Regions from separate parts of the Homo sapiens genome. Here all the other regions are linked to region 3. Evidence: promoter capture Hi-C in human tissues and cell types (Jung and others, 2019). All regions are on one chromosome and are shown on one strand. The core of a region is centred on a gene start or on the middle of the fragment in contact, and the rest is flanking DNA. Distances in the headings are between cores, read along the strand shown. Region 1 has its middle 220 kb from the start of LRP12. Region 2 overlaps LRP12 (LDL receptor related protein 12). Region 3 holds the start of ZFPM2 (zinc finger protein, FOG family member 2).

Region 1 (2,983 bases), core at 178-2,677, 510 kb before region 3:
AATCATAATGTTGAAAGGTTGATGTGAACCCAGAGCCCATTTAAGTTCAACTTCTTTTAACAGAGGAGGAAACTGAGTCCAAAAAGCTTTTATTGATTTGCTCAAGGTTAAAAGGCTATTAATTGACAAAGCTGGGGCTATAACCAAATTCTCTGGTCACTGCCCTACATAATGCTGTAGCTTCTTGGTTCTTTTTTTTTTTTTTTTTTTTTGCAAACCTCTTCTACAAAATATTTAAGTAGTTTATCTTTTAATAGAAAAAAGAATCGTGAGGCTCTTTTCCTTTCCACACATTTGGAGTGAAAATTTAATCACCTGGCAATGTAATTTAAGAGCATCAGCCCACTTGGATGTGGTTAATTGTATATAAAATTTCTAAGGAATAGTCATAAAAATAATAACAGCCATAGCAGTCATCATTTGCATAGAACATGTGAATACATTTTACACAAAGGTTATGTCTCTGAAGATATGAATGTGTTCTTATTAATAGGTACATTTACAATTACCTTACAATGTAACTATAAACCAACACTAGTTGCATGACTAGTTGCATAGCTAGTTGCATCACTAGAAATTGAGCCATATTTGGTGACTCCAAAAGCCTACATTTAAAAAGCTGGTCCTGTGCAATTCCAGCTCATTTTAGGGCCAAGTAAATTACACAATTTGCTTTAACCCCAAACTTAACAGTTTAAATGAGAAGGAGAGGATGAAAATAAATTATGGATTGCACATATGTATGACAACCAAAATTTCAGAACTTCTAGTGAAATTGCAAAATACAATTTGGCCAAGTTACCAGCCCTCTCTGGGGCATACAAAATAGTTACCCATTTCAAGAACTGTTGTTAGGAAAAACTAATTAGTGATAGTAATGCTAATTATTACAGTGATGCTTAGAAAAATTCTGAATTTTGAGAAGACTCTAATTCTTGTAGCAATTGAAAATTGAGAACTGTATTACTTATGAGAAGATATGTAGTATGAAAGACATTATTGACATATATTTTTGACCAAAAGTTAAAAAAAAAAAAGCAAATTGATGCTACATGTGGAGCAAGTATGCTGCATGAGGAAAACATTTTTATTTCCTTGATAATTAATGAGGAAAGACTTGCTATTTATTACTTGTTAAAGACTTTATTTCATCTTTCTCCTTAAATCATAGACTATTAAGGATGGAAATAAATACTTCTAAGAGTTATATGTAGAAATTATTAAAGAAAAGTGACTTTCCTTAAGGTGAATGGTTCATTACACTTCTTCGGTTTAAATCTGGCCTATCAGTGTTTCTATAGCACAGCAGGTAGATTTGTGGTCTTAGAAAGGAAATAAGAACTGAGTTATTATTCTCTGTTTTTAGAATGTGCTCAGCATATATTGGGCCTATGGAAATATGATATCCAAATTGACATTAGATTGAAGAAAAGTGTGAGATAAAAATGAAGATCTTAAGTATATGCTTGAATGTTGTAGATGTTCCCAGGGAGAGTCCTTGACCTTTTTTGGAGCTGGCATTTTAAGCCTGGGGACAAATAGTCGCATTTTTGACAGTCATGTGAAGATTGCATTGGGGACTGCAGATGTGAGACCCTTTCTCTGTCAGAACTTAGAATTAAACCCACATCAAAAGCATTGCGAGAAGTGGAAGATCAGTGGGACGTAGTAAAAAACTCTTAATGAGCAGATAGACTGCTCTATAGCCTCTTGATGTGTGTCAACTTAGTCTTGACACAGCCAATTCTCAATTCTCTATGCAAGATAGAATGAGGGTAACAAAGATAATTGAAACCCTCAGATAATCTGCAGGTTCCATTTTAACCCTCAGTTCTAACTGCTTGCTTTGCAAGCCTTCTAGGAGATCCAGGAAACAGTTGTATCTCCTCTCTGATGTTGACTCATCAGCATATCCTGAAAGTGTTGAGAAACTATGAAATAAATAGAAGAGGCTATATCATTCGGGGTCCTGGCAAGAAGCAGATGGTACACTGAGGAGGTGATTAAAAAGAGTTTAAGGAAGGGACCATTTTCAAAGGTATGGGGTGGGGGGGAGCGGGACAAAGGAAGTTAAATGGATGAGGAAACACCCTGGGGTTAGAAACCATCAGAAGCTTCTCCCACTTCTAGGGATGAAGGAGCAAGAGGAGACAGCTGTGAGTAGAACCAGGCAAGACCTGTCTATAGGATAGGAGCTGTGGTTTTTCCACAGGATGACAGCCACTGGCACCCACAGCTCCACAGAACAGCAGCCAGGCCAGGCAGCACCCAAACTCTCTCTCCTCTGATCTCACCCCAGAGGCTCCCAATGGTCAAACCCCTGCGGAAGCCAGAGAGAAGGGGAGGCCTGTTGATGTGGTCCACAGCTGCCAGGGTCCTGGGGCACAGAGCAGGGCAGAGAAGGGTAAAGAGAGGATCTGGAAGGACAGAGAATACCTAGCCCAGAAGGGATGAGGAGAATGGTGGGTCATCCAGTCATGCCCCTGCATTTGAACACAAGACCATATATTTTATTTATTTTTAATTATTTTATTGAGACAGGGTCTTGCTCTGTCTCCCAGGCTGGAGTGTGGAGACATGATCACAGCTCATTGCAACCTCTGTCTCCTGGGCTCAAGCAATCCTCCCACCTTAGCCTCTGGAGTAGCTGAGACTACAGGCACACGCCACCATGCCTAGCTAATTTTTGTATTCTTTGTACAGACAGGGTTTCACCATGTTGCCCAGGTTGGTCTCAAACTCCTGGGCTCAAGCAATCCGCCCACCTCAGCCTCGCAAAGTGTTGCCATTATGGGCATGAGCCACCACGCCCAGTCAAGAATGTATCTTTTAAAAGAGATACTTTTAGAAAGCCAATGAAATAGAAAGTGAAAGAAAACCATATGCTTTAGGAAATGGCCATTTGCATCACATAACAGGTAAATATTCTGTCCAAGAGAAGGGGAGAGAGATAATAAGGAGAAAGTGCTTCTTTAAATTTTGG
Region 2 (3,135 bases), core at 253-2,752, 730 kb before region 3:
TACTACCTTGGTCCAAGCTCCTGTTATCTCTCACCTGGATTACAGCCAAAATCTCCTAACTGATCATCCCATCTCTACTGTTTCCCACTTCACAACAATACTCCACATAGTAGCAAATGTGACTGTTTCAAAACATAAATCACATTATGTCACTTAAATAGTTAAAATAAAACCCAAACTCTTTACCATGGATTCTAAATCCTAGAGTTTCTAAGTATTGCTCTAATCTCATCCTGTCACTCTCCCTTACAACCATTATGTTCCAGTTACAGTGTTTTTAGTAATTTATCTGCAACATACCAGCTCTTTCCTGATCCTGGGCCTTTCATGCATTGTTCTCATATGTAAAGCTTTCTTACCCAACCATAACACAGTTAGCTATGCTTTAGGTCTCATAAACGTCCCTTCATGAAAAAGTCTTCCCCTAATTACTCTGTGCCTGTTACTCACTATCTCTGCCCCATGTCTGTTTCTTTGAGAGCACTTATTACAACTTATTCATTAGACTATAAGCTCCATGAGGGCAGAAACTATGTGCATCAGGTTTTATCTAACACAGTGCTAGACATAAGCAAGGGCTCAATAAATATTTGCTAAATGAACTAAGTGAAGAGACAGCCAGGGTTAGGCTACAATCCTGACTCTACTACTTCATACTGGTTTGACTTCAGTTAAGTCACAATATTTCTGTGTTTCAATGTTCTCTTCCATAAAACAAAAGAAAGAGTACATATCTGACAGGATTGCCAAATAAGACCTACTAAAGATTAATTGGCAATAAATAAAGACTAATCACGCATCTTTCAATGTAAGTATTAAGTACTTGTAAGTAAATAAGTGCTATTAAACTTAATTTAATGTTAGTTTCCTTCCTTCCCTTCTATAACTTAGACAGTAAGAATTCCCTAAGCTAATACAGTATTGAAATAATATATTTATATATACTTAAAAAGAAGAGACTCTGATAACATGTATTTGAATAGATACATTGGTAATTTGTATTTGCAGGATCTAATCCTAAATTTTAGAAAATGGGAATAAATAATGTACATCTATTACTTAACTCTCTCAAAAAGCAGGGAGTGATAAGGAGAAAAGAAGAAAAACAGAAAAGAAAGGTAACCTTAGAAATTAGAGATCATCAACTTCCAATTCCTAAATTTAGAACAACCTTCCTCTTCTTATAAAGACTTGCAGTAAGAACAGGATTAATATCTAAAATAAAAATATTCTATGTTTACTTAAATCTATATAATTCTCACTTATATTTCATATATATTTTTACTGAACTTTCACCCCTTAAATTGTGGTATCACTGGTAAAGTGGGGAAAAAAAAAAGGAACAACATCTCATATCAGAAACACAAAAAGGCCCTCTTGTTCCCTTAATATTTTAATAAGCTTTAAATTTTCTAATTACAAAAGTAAATCTCAACATTTTCTTTAACTGCTGCTCACTTTTCAGGCTAAAATCCCTTTTATGTTCTTCAAAAGAAATTTTACTTTCTAGGAACCTTATAAATCATTTACCATACATCATTCAAATCTCCTCCATACTCTATCTAGAATACAGTTAACAGTGCTTGTTTAATACTTTCTGCCCTGATAACCACCTAGAATTTTGTGGAATGTGCTGCCCACCTTCATATTCTCCCAAGGATATGGATATAATTTAGATTCTGAACTCAAGGAAGGGTTTATGTTAAGCAATTAATTCAATTTTATTCAACACATTTTATGTAATCAAACTTGACTTTGTAAGAAGTAATTGGTATCTGGTTTAGATTTTTCCCTCATGTTCCAGTTACTTCTACAACCTTTCTAAAATTGGAATTTCTTGTCTACCCTTAAACCAGTTATTAAGTGCTACTGAACATTCCATAAAATTCATGGGAAAAGATTCATCCATTACATATATGCAAAGTAAAAAGATTATTTTAGGCTACCACAACATCTAGAATACTACTGTGAACAGTAAAGACTCTTGACTGTAATAAGCTGAAAACCAGTTTAAAAATGAATTTTATCACAAGTCAATCAGTATATGCTGTGAACAGTTCTACGACTATCAAATGCTCTGGCAGCAAGTAACCAAAAATTAACCATCTGCAACTCTTGAAGTTTATTGTAAAATGATATACAAACAAGAAACATTCTAAATTACATTTATTTATTTATTTATTTTTTGAGACAGAGTTTCACTCGTCACCCAGGCTAGAATACAATCGTGCAATCTTGGCTCACTGTAACCTCCACCTTCCTGGTTCAAGTGATTCTCCTGCCTCAGCCTCCTGAGTAGCTGGGATTACAGGCATGTACCAGCACACCTGGCTAATTTTTGTATTTTTAATAGAGACGGGGTTTCGCCATGTTGGCCAGGCTGGTCTCAAACTCCTGACTTCAGGAGACTCACCCGCCTCAGCCTCCCAAAGTGCTGGGATTACAGGCTTGAGTCACCACGCCTGGCCTCTAAACTATATTTTAAGGCTTCATCTTGGGTAGTGTTTTTCAAGCTAAGGACTGCAATTTATTAGTGGATCCAAAATTTATTTAATGAGTCCAGACCAGCAAATGAAGAAGGGAAGGGTGAGAAAGAGGAGGAATAAATAGAAAACATCTGAGTGCACAGGTAGTTAAGAGTACGATTTCATTAACTTTTTTCTCTATGTACATAGTACCCGAAGCAATGTGTATTTTAAGGGTGGGTTTGAGTAAAAGTTAGGAAACACTAATCTGGGAGACAAACAGAAGTGGAAAGGATAAAGCAACGGAACTGTCAGAATTACCAAATTGTGGTTTAGGAGGTGAGCAAGACTAACAGCTTCTATTGACTAGGAGACAGAGGTTTTGGAAACTCCCATAGATTTGTAAAAGCGAGACATCCCTATGTGAAAAATGACAAAGCACTTTTTCCTCTTACAGTAAGCCTAGGACAATGCGTAGCAAAGCTTGTGGTTGTCACCACTGATATTTTTATCCCTTCAAACTTTCAAAGGTGGCAGAGGTCAACCTTTACTCTCTCCTAACTCTTAGGCACATTGAATGCGGTTAAGATACAGTAGCCCCTGAAAGATAATTACAGGTCCTTGAACAACTACTTCTAGAAAACATTATATTCTAGATTACAATTTAGAG
Region 3 (3,284 bases), core at 501-3,000:
TATTTATTCCACAACACAAACATAAATGGCCCTGCTTTTCATGGTACTTTCAGCCTTAATTTGTTGGTTCTTCACAGGAGGGACTTTGTCATTTAGTGCATTTTCCACTGCAGAGGACTATGTATTCTTACAGCCTCCTATGGTAATAGTACTAATGGTAATGTAATAAAATTCACAATTTGTCTTCAGCTTTGTATTAAGATTCTCTTGGCCATACCTTTCACAAGGCAACTCTTTACACCTTCCAGAAGATGTCCTGTTGGGGTTATAAATGACACTGATTACAGTGCCTCTTACACACTGAGCATCTTGCATTATGCTCAATCAGCCCAGGCTCTGTGCTGACCCCAGACCCTTTTAGAGTATCCAGTTTGGTGTGGTTCACACAAATAATAGTCAACCAAGCAAACGGGGACACAATTTGAGATCAGAATGGTCCACTTCACAACCTCCTGGGGGAAAAGTCAGCAGTATCTGGGGGACTCATGTGAACTGCAGTGGAGTTTATTAGTAAATACTGATTACATAAAGCAGCTAGTCCCACTGCACTTGGATAGAAGCTCCTTCCAACCCACATGGGAGAATATATTTAATACTTACCGTATATGAAACTGTAAGAAAATAAGCTAACCTCATACAGTTTAACTTGGCCAAAATAATAACTATGCAAATCACCTCAAAATTTGTTCTCCTTTTGGCTTGCAGTTGCCGATATACTACACATACAGTAATTGAATAAGAATAAAACAAAATTTTAGAAGCTAAAGAACCATTAAATAGTTACTGGGTCTTACCCGCTTGGGAAATTACAGCAAGATCAAATCTTTTATTAGTCGATCGGTGCTTCCCTGTGGCAGAAGACTAAGAGAATAGAAAGGTCACGGGGCAGGGTGGGACTACAGAACTTCCCCAGACTTTCCCAAAAAGTTAGTATTTTTATTAGAGATGGTTCGTTTTCCACTTACGGCTAATCAGCTAGCTAACGCTCGCTCCTCCTTTTCAAGATGAGAAAAATATCTGCTTGTCTCCAAATTTGAATATTTTACAATTTAAAATGGAAACTGTGGGTGACAGAACACGTTGAGGATCCGACTCAGCACCTCATCCACGTGGGCCCAGAGCGGGACGGTCCGTGTCCGCAGCGGTCTCCTGGGAGCCTTGAGAGCAAAGAAATGGTCTTCTGAGAGCCTGGGCAGATGAGCGGACTTAACTGGCCCCAAGACACACAGTTGGCATTTGTGATCATCTGGCTCTCGCCGAGGACTTTGCCAGTGGCCTAACCTTCCTGCCAAGAAGCTGGGAGGGCGGGGGTTGGGGGTGAGGGGAGGGGGCGGCATAACTGAAAGCACAAAGTTTAGGGAGAGACTGAGATTTCTTTGTGCCCCGCTGGACTGGCGAGGCGTGAGAGAGGAGAGTTGGGGTCCCTCAGAGAGGGCCGTTGGAAGAAGTTGCCTGGAAGGAGGTGGGGCGGGGTGCCCTGGCAGCTGCCCAGCGTTGACGCGGTGACAACTGCAGAAGGTGGCCCTCCTCCAAGCCGTCCCCACGCCTCCCCTCCAACTCCCACCCACCCCTGCCCCCATCCCCCACCACCGCCTGGATCCCCCGCACTTCGCCCGACCAAGGCCGGGGCCGTAGTTTGCATCCGGACTGGATTTGGATGCAGCCAATCCTCCTTTGGCTGATGGAATAGTCTCCCCTCCCCACAGCCCCGGCGCGCCCCTCCCTCGCGCGCCTCGCCGCCTCCCGCCGCAGAACAGGAGCTGCGCGGCCCGGAGCGGCGGCGGCGGCGCCGGAGTATCCGTCCCGCACGCCGGGGCGAGGGGCGAGCGAGCGCGCTCCTCCTCCCGCGCCCTGCGCCCCCGCGCTCCCCCTCTCCTCGCTGCTCGCTCTCCCGTCCCTCCCTCCTTCTCTTCCTTCTTTCCGTGTTATTTTTCTCTTCTCTTTCCCCTTTTCTCTCTCCCTGACCGTTCGCTTGTACATTCCCATTCTCCCCCCGTCGCTCTCCTCTCCCCCTCCCCTCCTCACTGTCACACTCTCTGTGCCCCCGTCTCTCTTCTCTCATTTGCTTGCTCATCTCCGAACGTGAATCCGCGGCTCCCGGAGGAGCCCAGCGCCCGGAGCACCTGGAGTCCGGCCGGCGGCGGGCCGAGCCTGGCCAGCGGCGGCGGCGGCGGCGGCGGCGGCGGGAGCCGAGGGAGCGGCAGCCGCGACCGCGGGCACCGCGGGAGCCCCAGCGGCAGCAGCCGCCGCCGAGATGTCCCGGCGAAAGCAAAGCAAACCCCGGCAGATCAAACGTAAGTTTGCGCGCGGGGCCGGGAGTTGGTGGGATTATTGCCCAGGAGCGGGGTGCGCGGGACGGGAAAGCGGTGGGTGGGTGGCGGGGCTAGGGGAGATCCGCTCCCGGTCCCCTAGATGTCTCAAACTTTGCCTGAGCAGTCGAAGGGACAACTAGACAGTCATAGACAGACAGACGGCCAGCCCGAGCCTCGGGCAGGAGAGAGGCTGCGAGGAGCAGCCCATGCTTGCCCCGCTCAGCCCTCGCGCTCCCGGGCTGCTTTTTTAATTCCGACCCGCGCACGCTGCGAGTCCCCGGCGCTGTCGTCCAGCCGGAGGGGCAGTCCCGCTCCTTTAGACGCTTATTATTGTTGTTGTCATTGCTTTGTGCGATTGACGTGGGACTACTCTTGGGAACCACTTTTAGTAACCAGGGTAGAAACTTCTCAGAAAAGCTGGGCGGTCGAGACCTCGGGGCGAGGGAGGTAACTTCCCCACGCGGTGGAAAATCAGAGCGTCAGGGTCCCGATCCTGGGCGGTGCCAGAGCCACACCAAACCCGAAGCGAAACAAAAAGTAGGTGTAAAAGTTCGCGCCTCTGCGGCGGGCGGCCGTGCGTCTCTGCCCTGCGGGCGCGGGCTGGTGGCTGGCAGGTCGTGTCCTGGGACTTCGGGCGGGTCCGGCTCACGCCGCCAGGACGCTCAGCCGAGCGGGGATTCGGGTGGTGTCTGGCCCTGGTGGCGCGCGGAGTCCTCCCTGGGAGGGGCCGCCAGTCACTTCCCAGCGCGGAAGCTGTGAGTTCAAGGCGGTGGGCGCGCAGGGGAGTGCATGGCCCTGAGCCCCCGGGTGCCCGGGGGTCCCGATGGTGCTTAGAGGACACGGCGGGTCAAGAGACACCTTCCGAAACAGGCACGCTCGCAGAGATCAAGTCGGTCAACTTTTCTTGGCTTGGGGAGAATTCCTCCAATAGCGTTTTATAGGCCTGCGACATATCTTCAACGCTTTGGCCGA

Evidence for each region. The method cuts DNA at HindIII sites, captures the fragments that hold promoters and counts their contacts. A contact is called where the count stands out against the background at its distance.
Region 1: a contact is called between a fragment that was not itself captured here and the fragment with the promoter of ZFPM2 in region 3, in 1 of the 25 tissues and cell types used here (heart left ventricle).
Region 2: a contact is called between a fragment that was not itself captured here and the fragment with the promoter of ZFPM2 in region 3, in 1 of the 25 tissues and cell types used here (dorsolateral prefrontal cortex).

What each region holds. Positions count from the first base shown.
Region 1 is chr8:104,803,461-104,806,443 of GRCh38, forward strand. No RefSeq gene overlaps it. Among named protein-coding and RNA genes, the nearest start is that of LRP12, 220 kb to the left of the region's middle. The HindIII fragment of the contact is 4,200 bases long and covers 1-2,983 here.
Region 2 is chr8:104,583,058-104,586,192 of GRCh38, forward strand. All of the region lies in intron 1 of LRP12 (LDL receptor related protein 12), which reads right to left. Among named protein-coding and RNA genes, the nearest start is that of LRP12, 4.6 kb to the right of the region's middle. The HindIII fragment of the contact is 3,889 bases long and covers 1-3,135 here.
Region 3 is chr8:105,316,688-105,319,971 of GRCh38, forward strand. It overlaps ZFPM2 (zinc finger protein, FOG family member 2), which reads left to right and starts at 1,751. Exons shown (of 8, transcript NM_012082.4): 1 at 1,751-2,294. The coding sequence starts at 2,255. The HindIII fragment of the contact is 7,749 bases long and covers 1-3,284 here.